Linked DNA regions of Homo sapiens: regions 2 and 3 are each linked to region 1. The links are contacts of gene promoters, found by promoter capture Hi-C in blood cells and fetal thymus (Javierre and others, 2016). All regions are on one chromosome and are shown on one strand. The core of a region is centred on a gene start or on the middle of the fragment in contact, and the rest is flanking DNA. Distances in the headings are between cores, read along the strand shown.

Region 1 (3,303 bases), core at 1-2,500:
TCTGCCTCCCGGGTTCAAGCTTGTCCAGGTTGATCTTGAACTCCTGACCTCGTGATCTACCCACCTCGGCCTCCCAAAATGCTGGGATTACAGGGGTGAGCCACCGTGCCCAACCTCACTTGCTTCTTATCCTTACACTCCCCCAGCCCCAGAGAAACTGCCACATACACCACAAAAACCAAACATCCCCCAATGACCTTAGCCCCATTGCTCCATTCACTCCCAGGTGAGAATTCAGGCAAACGTCCACAAAGGTCACAGGCAGCGTACATACGGTTCTGTTATACCCCATATATTACCCCTTCATGTCCTAAAGAAGACATTTTCTCTTAGAGATTTTCATTTTAGTGTATCTTTAAAAAAAAATCTTGTGTTAACTTGCCTCCATCTTTTTCTTGGGTGAGGACACCCAGGAATGACCCTTTTGTGTCTATGATGTTGCTGTTCACAGCTTTTCTTGATAGGCCTAGTACAATCTTGGGAACAGGGTTACTGTATACTGAAGGTCTGACAGTAGCTCTTAGACTCGCCTATCTTAGGTAGTCATGCTGTGCATTTTTTTTTTCATTGGTGTACTGTGTTTGATTTGTCTCATATATTTGGAGTTTTTCTGAAAAATGGAGCAGTAATGCAGCATCAACCTATTAAAATACATTTTAAGCCTTTTAATTTTCTGTGGTGTTTTTGAAGGGGAAAGGAGGGAGGGGAGTTATCTTAGGAGATGAGCAGTAGACTCTATAAAGGTAATCCTTTATGACCTTTGGATTACAGTATTGATCTAGACAAACATGGGGAGGAGGTGGGGATGAGGTGCATCAAATGGCTGGAGGGGTTGGCAAGGATTAGCGCTATTGATACTACATGGAAGTAATGATGGAGGAAAGCTGCCCCTCTGAAAGAGGAAGAAAATGGGCTTAATCCTCATCGAGCTGGGGGCGCGGGGGGGGTCTCAAAATTGGTATTTGTTTCTTAGCAGCTGCTGCTGTGTCCAAGGCTTGGAATTGCTGTGGTGAATCTAAAACTGTCTCAGTAGTGGTGAGCTGACCTCACCCAAGTTCAAAGCCCTACTCTGCCTGATCCTTTTTTCCTGAGCCTCAGAGCTAAAATGCCCCCGAGCTCTTTCCTATTGGCTGGAAAGACGAATTGAAGTTCCCTTGCCCATGTTAGGAGGTGTACGCCTCCTGAACTAAAGATAGAAACAGCTGGCCCTTCCAGGCAGCTAAAAGCCTCCAGACTAAGAGGTGTTCCCCATTCGGCAGCCAGACTCCTTGAAATACCCTTTCAGTAATCATTCAACCAACGCTTCCATGTCTCTACTCTGTCGTAACAAAGGCTGTGGGCAGCACTTTGACCCTAATACCAACCTTCCTGGTGAGTAAAGAATCCTGACCTGGCCAGGGGCTCTGTGTGGGTGTTGGGGACTGGTCAGCTGGGGGGCAGTGTGTTTGAGGAGCGGGGAAAGAAACTACCTGCCCTAGTTTAATTGGTCTGAGTGATCTTACAGCCTTTGCTGGCTTTTTTTTTTTTCTTCACATTATATGGGAAGAAACCATAAATAGAAACCCGGGGAAGAGGTGAAAAATGATACTTGGTATAGTTATCTTCCCTTCCTTGATAACTTCTACTGATGTCCACAGATTCCTGTTGCCATCACCCTGGGGTCCCAATCTTCCATGATGCACTTAAGGTGAGGAGTAGGTGAGGGGGGTTAGCAAGAGCATTTCCCAGAAGAGATAATACCCAGGAAGCTAAGCTGATCTGGGTCTCTTGTTATCAGGGTTGGTCCTGCTGCCGAAAGCGAACTGTAGATTTCTCTGAGTTCTTAAACATCAAGGTAAATTATTTATGTACTTGGATTCTGCCCCCAATAGAAGGATTCTATCCCTAATCCTATCTCCTTATCTATACTAGGGCTGTACTATGGGACCACACTGTGCTGAGAAGCTTCCTGAGGCCCCTCAACCTGAAGGCCCTGCTACAAGCAGTTCACTTCAGGAGCAAAAACCTCTGAATGTGATTCCAAAGTCAGCAGAGACCTTGCGCCGGGAGAGGCCCAAGTAAAGAGGAGGAGGCCCCTGGACTTTTCTTATTTTCATGTAGCTTCCTAGGAGTGATTAATGGGTCATTGAGGACTGGGAACTAGGGACCAGGGATGTGAGGAGGGCCAGATGTCAGGGTTTGGATGGTGTATATCCTGTGCCTTAGGGGAAATTTGTGTCTGGAAATAACGCCCTTTCCTCTAAGGTGGTGTGGGATGATGGGATAGATACCTGAATCAACAGAGTAGATAGCCCCTCACAAATACATCCTTAGTGTATAACACAAAAGGGATTGTTGAGAATGACTTCTCTTTCTAGAAAAGAACTTTAAGATAAATCTCATATCAAGAAAAGGATGTATTGTATTATTGGCAGCCAGGAGACTTCCCAAATTTTGTGGGAATAATAAGAGCAACAGAAGGAAGTCATATTAGGTCCACGATTAGATAAAGAGGAAGAGGATATGACTCAGTTCTGCAGAGAAAAGTGGTTAGGTTTAGAGCAACTGAGTAGATGGGTAAGAGAAGTGCTGGGGATTTCTCTAGGGTTCAGGTATTTGGGATGTCCACAGAGATGAAAATTGGCAATGGGGTTGCTACCCAACCTCTCCAACTCTGCCTCACTTTCACCAGGCTTCTTTAATTCCATTACCATCGGTGGGAGTGTTGGAGCTAGCAATCATAGCTAATGGGTCAGAACTAAATCACCACCCTTAACCCCTAGGTCAGAGTTGCCTCTGAAGCTGCTGCCGCTAAATATATCCCAAGCCCTGGAAATGGCATTGGAACAGAAGGAATTAGACCAGGAACCTGGGGCAGGTAGGTGGGTCTTTAGTAGGATCAACTTCATAGACTGGAATTTAGTGGAAGTGGCAATTGAGTGGGGGGATGGATAAGTTCCTGACTCTGTTTCCCTTGCCCAGGACTTGACAGTCTGATCCGGACTGGTTCCAGCTGCCAGAACCCAGGATGTGATGCTGTGAGTGAGAGTTTTGAGGGGCTCAAGCATATGGCTGAGGGATGACTGGGTATAGATAGGCTGAGTAGGATATACCTTAGAATGACCTGGTTCTACTTTATCCTTCTTAGGTTTACCAAGGCCCTGAGAGTGATGCTACTCCATGTACCTACCACCCAGGAGCACCCCGATTCCATGAGGGGTGAGGGAGGGGACTGGGTGGGCTATGAGGCTATGAGACAGGTTTCTCCTAATATTTGGTCATAAGATAATATTGGGGGTGAGAGAATTCAGTTGAATTATCTTC
Region 2 (3,303 bases), core at 585-3,084, 250 kb before region 1:
CCCTCCCCCATCTCTACACACACACACACACACACACACACACACACACACACACAGTAAAAGACACACACACAGTAAAAGGCACACACCTTTTGACCCAGCAATTCCTTCTCTCAAAATCTATCCTACAGAAATACTTACACACTGGAGCAAGGTTATATGTAGCATTATTTATAATAGTGAATGATTGGAGACAAATTTGCATCAATAGGTGAATCATTAAATTGTGATACAACCATACCATGAAATGTTATGCAGTCATTTTTTAAATGAGGTAAATTTCCATGTATTAATGCAAGAGGAGGTCCAGAATACAATGCAAAGTGAAAAAAGTTGCAAAACAGTACATATAATATCCCATTTCATTTAAAAAAAACCTATATACAAATGTGTGGGTATTCATATATGTATATATGTGTATATTAATATATAAACACAAACAGAACAACATCTGGGAAGACACACACCAAATTAAGTTATTCTTGGAGAATGGGAGTGGTGAGAGGGACTAAGGAAAAATCTTTCACTTTTTACTTTACACATTTATGTTTTGCTTGAATTTTGTTGGCTAACATTAATAATTTTTGAATTTTTATCACAATAAAACATTTTAACAAAATAGGCACTTTTGTAATCAGATCAATAGAGTTATAATGTATGTGTTTTAAATAAAAATAGCTCCATGGGGGCTGGGCGTAGTGGCTCACACCTGTAATCAATCCCAGCACTTTGGGAGGTCGAGGTGGGCAGATCATACGGTCAGGAGTTTGAGACCAGCCTGGCCAATATGGTGAAACCCCGCTTCTACTAAAAATACAAAAATTAGCCGGGCGTGGTGGCATGCCCCTGTAGTCCCAGCTACTCTGGAGGCTGAGGCAGGAGAATCGCTTGAACCTGGGAGGCACAGGTTGCAGTGAGCCAAGATCACACCACTGCACTCTGGCCTGAGCGACAGAGCAAGATTCCCTCTCAAAAAATAAATAAATAACGCCATGGGGTGACTACTTCATTTTAAAATTTTAGCTAGAAGACTTAGGATACAATTAGAACAACTGTAAACCAAATCAACTCTGAGTTTCAATGGGGGTATACTCATGACTTGATATAACAGGATGTGGGCAAACAAAATCTAATCAGGATAATCGTTCATTTCTGAAAGAGAAAACTACACTACAGCAAACTCCATCATATAAAGGAAAAATTGTGCTTTCACTTTTTTGGTGGCATCACCTCCAATGTTTACTCAACTCCTTGGCAAGGGTGGGAAATCATAAAAAGCTAGAGATTTAAGATACCTCAGAGATCATTTGGTCAAAATCCCTCATTTAGTCGAAATCCCTCATTGTATAGTTCAGAAAACAGGCCTAAAATGGTGAAGCAATTCAACTAAGGTCCTATAGCTAGCTATATAGCCAATTTTAGAAGTCAGGTTTCTATTCCAGGTCTGGTACTCTTTCTGTTTCTTTTCAGATCTTCCTGAGTCTTCAGTATGATGAAATTATGAAATATTTTTAAATTTTATGATTAGACATCCCTATATTTAAATGTTACAACAAAAATGCCTAACAAAATTAAAATGTACATGCCTCCATTAGTACAGATGATGAAAAGTTCACTGTATCTAGACAAAAAATATTATTGGTATAACATTCTCTTGAAAAGTAATACATAAATCAGGCCAGGTACAGTGGCTTACGCCTGTAATCCCAGCACTTTGGGAGGCCGAGGCAGGCAGATCACTTGAGCTCAGGAGTTCGAAACCAGCCTGGCCAACGTGGTGAAACCCCGTCTCTACTAAAAATACAAAAATTAGCCGGGTATGGTGGTGCCACGCTTGTAGTCCCAGCTACTCGGGAAGCTGAGGCAGGAGGATCGCTTGAACCTGGGAGGCAGAGATTGCAGTGAGCTGAGATCACGCCACTGCACTCCAGCCTGGACAACACTGTGAGACTCCATCTCAAAAAATATATATATACATATTTTTTTTCTGTGAATCTGAATGTATTTTACTGTTTACCTAAGAACTACTGTTTTATCCCAATTTCTAACTGTTCTTCAACTGGCACTGCCTCTTAACCCTTTATCTTTAGTTTCTTTATATCAAGCAGTTGATGACCTATATAAAAACACTTAAAACCACCACAGGAAACACCTATTTAAAGGAAGCCTGCAGTGATTTAAAGAATTCTTTTTTGATGTTGACAATTATCCCTGGTTTGTCTGTTTTATAAGGAATGAGTTCTCTGTTTTTAAATGCATAGACAGACAGGGTATGGACAGAAGAAATAAAATAGGCAACAACTGGTTTTTGTACAAACAAGGTAAAAAAAGAAGATAAGAATGAGGGGTGGTGGGTGGTCAGGAAGGGAGTGGCAGAGAACCACATGCTAAATTAGTCACTAAGACTTTATATTTCAAAAGTAAACTCAAATACTAAGATATATAAATGGAATAACAACTACCTAACCTTCAGGCTGTAATTAAAGTGTTGTCCAATTTAAGACTCTACAACTTGAGGACATGTGAGGGCCTTGGAGAGATTTCAGAATAATAAAAAGATAAAAGGGTTAAAAATGAGCCAAGTAAGGAAAAATTAGAACTTATTATATCTAAGAAGAGAATACTAAGGGTGACTCAACAGTTTTCAAGGATATGAAGAAATATCCATTTCAGTGAGCAGCTGTTCTACATTTCCACAAAAGAAAGTAATTTTACTTAAATTATTACAGCATATATTTCAACATAGAAGTAGGAATATCTTCAACATAGAAGTATCTCATGTAGGATAACTATCAACTCCAGAGAAGCCTGAATGTTATCCACCTCTCCCACCTTTACTGGCTTAATTCCTTGTCTCAAAGAATGGGTCAAAGGGTAGATAAGGCATCTTTGGAATGTGAAGATTTAGACTTCTTTTGGGTCTAGCTATGTTCAAAATTTTTCGTTAGCCTCTGTCCCCCAGGTTCCAGCATAAGGTTAAGCCCTTTCTGCACTATAGATAAAGGGGATTAATTAGTGGTAAACATGCAAATACCCATGTAAATTAGAATTCCTTATCAAAGAAAAGTATGCTTCTCCTCAGTGTTAATGGGTAAGAGGGTTTGGATTTAGGATTCTTGCCTGGCCCAGTTAATGTGCCAAAATGGCCAATTTGACATCCAAGGGAGATTTACCTGGCCTGATATTTTTAAAAAAGAAAAAGACTGGACAACTAACCAGATGTGCCTGAATCTCTTACTCTGTCTCTAGCATTTTCCTGCCTTGTATAGACATCTCTTCATTTTGTTTTGAGGCTGGAGTGCA
Region 3 (3,303 bases), core at 414-2,913, 250 kb after region 1:
TAATGCAGGAACAGAAAACCAAATATTGCATGTTCTCACAAGTGGGAGCTAAGCATTGGGTACACATGGACACAAAGGGGAACAATAGACAGTGGGGCTTACTTGAGGGTGGAGGGTGGGAGGAGTGTGAGGGTACAAAAACTACTTACCAGGTACTATGTTCACTACCTGAGTGACAAAATCATTTGTATACCAAATTGCTGTGACACAATTTACCCATTTAACAAACCTGCATGTGTACCCCAAACCTAAAATAAATGTTGGAATTAAAATAAAACTCATATTAAAGTTTTAAAAAAGGGCTTTGTATTAGGTAATTTTACCTAAACGTAGGCTAATGTGTTCTGAGCATGTTTAAAATGAGACTAGCCGGGCCAGGTGTGATAGCTCACATCTGTGATCCCAGTGCTTTGGGAGGCCGAGGCGGGCAGATTGCTTGAGCTTAGGAGTTGAAAACCAGCCTGGACAACATAACGAGACCCTGTCTCTACAAAAATGAGCTGGGTGTGGCAGTGTGCTCCTGTAGTCCCAGCCATTTGTAGGGCTGAGGTGGGAGGATTGCTTGGGCCTGGGAGCTGGAGGTTGCAGTGAACCAAGATTGCACCACTGCACTCCAGCCTGGGTGACAAAGTGAGGCCCTGTCTCAAAAAAAAAAAAAAAAAAAAAAAAAAAATTAGGCTAAGCTAGGATGTTCACTAAGTGTTACAGATGCATTTTGACTTAAGATATTTTCAACTTATGATGGGTGTATCGGGACATAACCCCATCCTAAGTTGAGAAACATCTTTATTGCAGCATTTGCTGGATAGTACATGGTATGGCAGTTTCCAATTTTGTGTTGAAAATGTACTTTAGGCTGCGTGCTGTGGCTCACACCTGTAATCCAGCACTTTGCGAGGCTGAGGTGGGAGGATTGCTTGAGCCTAGTAGTTTGAGACCAGCCTGGGCAACATAGTAAGACCCTGTCTCTACAAAAAATACAAAAAGTAGCTATGCGTGGTGACACACACACAGCTACTGGGGAGGCTGAGATGGGAGTTTGAGTCTGCAGTGAGCTGTGATCATGCAACTGCACTCCAGCCTGGGTGATGGTGTGAGACCCTGTCTCAAAAAAAATGTACTTTAGTAATTAAAAATGATTTTTATAAATGGGCTTTAAAGAAGCAGGGCTTCTTGGTGAAAAGGCAGATTCCAGGTCTGGGGCAGGAATTTAAAAAAAATTTTTGGAATGTCTTGTCATACCAGAAAGCAAGGAAGCTTTGACATATTACTTTGCATCAAAAGGACTCAGGAAGCAACTTGAGGAGGCTCCCACTGGCTAAAGATGCAGACTTGAGCATCAATAGGAATAATAACTGAAATATACTAAAACTTATCAAGTATGTTTAAATCTATGAGCTTATAATTATGCTAAAAAATTCATTGGTCATCTTTGGAAGACTTACAAGGAACAATTAATTTGGAAAACTGGTTAAAAAGAGAAGAATAAAGTTTTTGAGGAACCTCTATACTAGTTCCCAAAATGGCTGTGCCAATTTATACTTCCCCCATCAGTTACAAGGCTTCCCTTTCTTTACATCCTCACTAACACTTGTTATTATTCGTCCTTTTGATGATAGCTATACTAACAAGTGTGAGATGCTAACTCATGGTTTTATTTTGCATTTCCTTGATGATTAGTGATGTTGAGCATATTTTTTATATATCTGCTTGCCATTTGTTTTTTTTGTTTTGTTTTGTTTTGTTTTTTTGAGATGAGGTCCTGCTCTGTTGCCCAGGCTGGAGTGCAGTGGCGCCATAATAGCTCACTGCAACCTCGAACTCCTGGGCTCAAGTGATCCTCCCACCTTGGTCTCCCCAAGTGATAGGATTACAGACATGAGCCACTGTGTCTGGCCTGTACCTCTTCTTTTGAGAAATGTCTGTTTAGATCCTTTGCCCGTATTTTAATGGGCGTATTTGCTACTGAGTTGAGCTTCTTAACCCTTTATCAGTTGTATAGTTTGCAAATGCTTTCTCCTAATCCGGGGTTGCCTATTCACTCTGTGTAATTGTTTCCTTTACTGTGCAGAAGCTTTTTAGTTTGATGCAATCTCATTGCATATTTTTGCTTTTGTTATCTGTGCTTTATGCTAAGTGAAATAAACCAGGCACAGAAAGTAGATACTGTATTATGTCACCTATTTGTGGAATCTAAAAAAGTTGATTTCATAGAAACAGAGAGTAGAAGGGTGGTGAGGCTTGGGGGGGTGGAGGAGGGATGGGGAAAAGGGAGATATTGATCAAAGTTTCAGTTAGACTGGAGGAATAAGTTTTAGTGATCTGTAGTACTGCATGGTGACCACAGTTGTTAATAATGTATATTTCAAAATTGCAAAAAGAATAGGTTTTTAATGTCCTCAACCACAAAAAAATAAGTTAGTGAGGTGATGGCTATGTTAATTAGCTTGGTTGACTCTTTCTAAAATGTATACGTGGATCAAACCATCACATTGTATGCCATAAATATACACAATTATATATCAACTTTAAATTTAAAAATTAAAAGAATAAAGCATATGTCTTCCCTCTCCTGTATGAACTAGACCATAGAGTAACCCAATAGTTGATGGGGGAAGCTTTTCTTTATAAAAGCATTCTAGCTAATAAGTGAAGAAGGAATGATAGAATATCACCATTAATAGTGAAAGCATTTATTAGGCCGGGCTTGGTGGCTCACGCCTGTAATCCCAGCACTTCGGGAGGCCATGGCAGGTGGATCACCTGAGGTCAGGAGTTCGAGACCAGCCTGGCCAACATGGCAAAACCCCATCTCTACTAAAAATACAAAAATTAGCCAGGCATGGTAGCAGGAGCCTGTAATCCCAGCTACTCAGGAGGCGGAGGCAGGAGAATCTCTTGAACCTGGGAGGTGGAGGTTGCAGTGAGCTGAGATTGCACCATTGCATTCCAGCCTGGGCGACAGAGCAAGACTCCATCTCAAAAAATAAAAAAAAAGTTAAAGCATTTATCAGTGACAAAAACGAGATACAATCAGGTATTAAGTACCTTGTGGTAAACAATTTCACCAGTGAAGTAGTCTTGCACAAAGAGAAAAGAACACAAACCTAATTAAGCTTCTGGTTCTACCTACCAATTTACAGGAGATATACACGGGACAGGAAACATGTTAAAGGACACCATAGGGATGCAGTCAGCAAAATTCAAACTTTGGGAAGCTGACCTTCTTACTTCAACAAATTGTAATAAAAATGGAGATTTAAATTAAACTTTTAGGCCGGGTGCGGTAGCTCACCCCTGTAA

What was found. The method cuts DNA at HindIII sites, captures the fragments that hold promoters and counts their contacts. A CHiCAGO score of 5 or more calls a contact.
Region 2: a fragment that was not itself captured here is called in contact with the fragment with the promoter of ITGB1BP2 in region 1 in 2 of 17 cell types (non-activated CD4 T cells and naive CD4 T cells); the score reaches 5.7 in non-activated CD4 T cells.
Region 3: a fragment that was not itself captured here is called in contact with the fragment with the promoter of ITGB1BP2 in region 1 in 1 of 17 cell types (fetal thymus); the score reaches 5.9 in fetal thymus.

What each region holds. Positions count from the first base shown.
Region 1 is chrX:71,300,500-71,303,802 of GRCh38, forward strand. It overlaps ITGB1BP2 (integrin subunit beta 1 binding protein 2), which reads left to right and starts at 1,251. Exons shown (of 11, transcript NM_012278.4): 1 at 1,251-1,371; 2 at 1,638-1,687; 3 at 1,778-1,834; 4 at 1,912-2,057; 5 at 2,763-2,857; 6 at 2,962-3,017; 7 at 3,128-3,198. The coding sequence starts at 1,308. NONO (non-POU domain containing octamer binding) reads left to right here. Exons shown (of 12, transcript NM_007363.5): 12 at 1-669. RefSeq lists an enhancer at 3,049-3,303. The HindIII fragment of the contact is 1,925 bases long and covers 18-1,942 here.
Region 2 is chrX:71,054,420-71,057,722 of GRCh38, forward strand. No RefSeq gene overlaps it. Among named protein-coding and RNA genes, the nearest start is that of SNX12, 12 kb to the right of the region's middle. The HindIII fragment of the contact is 5,418 bases long and covers 1-3,303 here.
Region 3 is chrX:71,548,651-71,551,953 of GRCh38, forward strand. The region is part of intron 5 of OGT (O-linked N-acetylglucosamine (GlcNAc) transferase); the gene reads left to right. Among named protein-coding and RNA genes, the nearest start is that of OGT, 17 kb to the left of the region's middle. The HindIII fragment of the contact is 817 bases long and covers 1,256-2,072 here.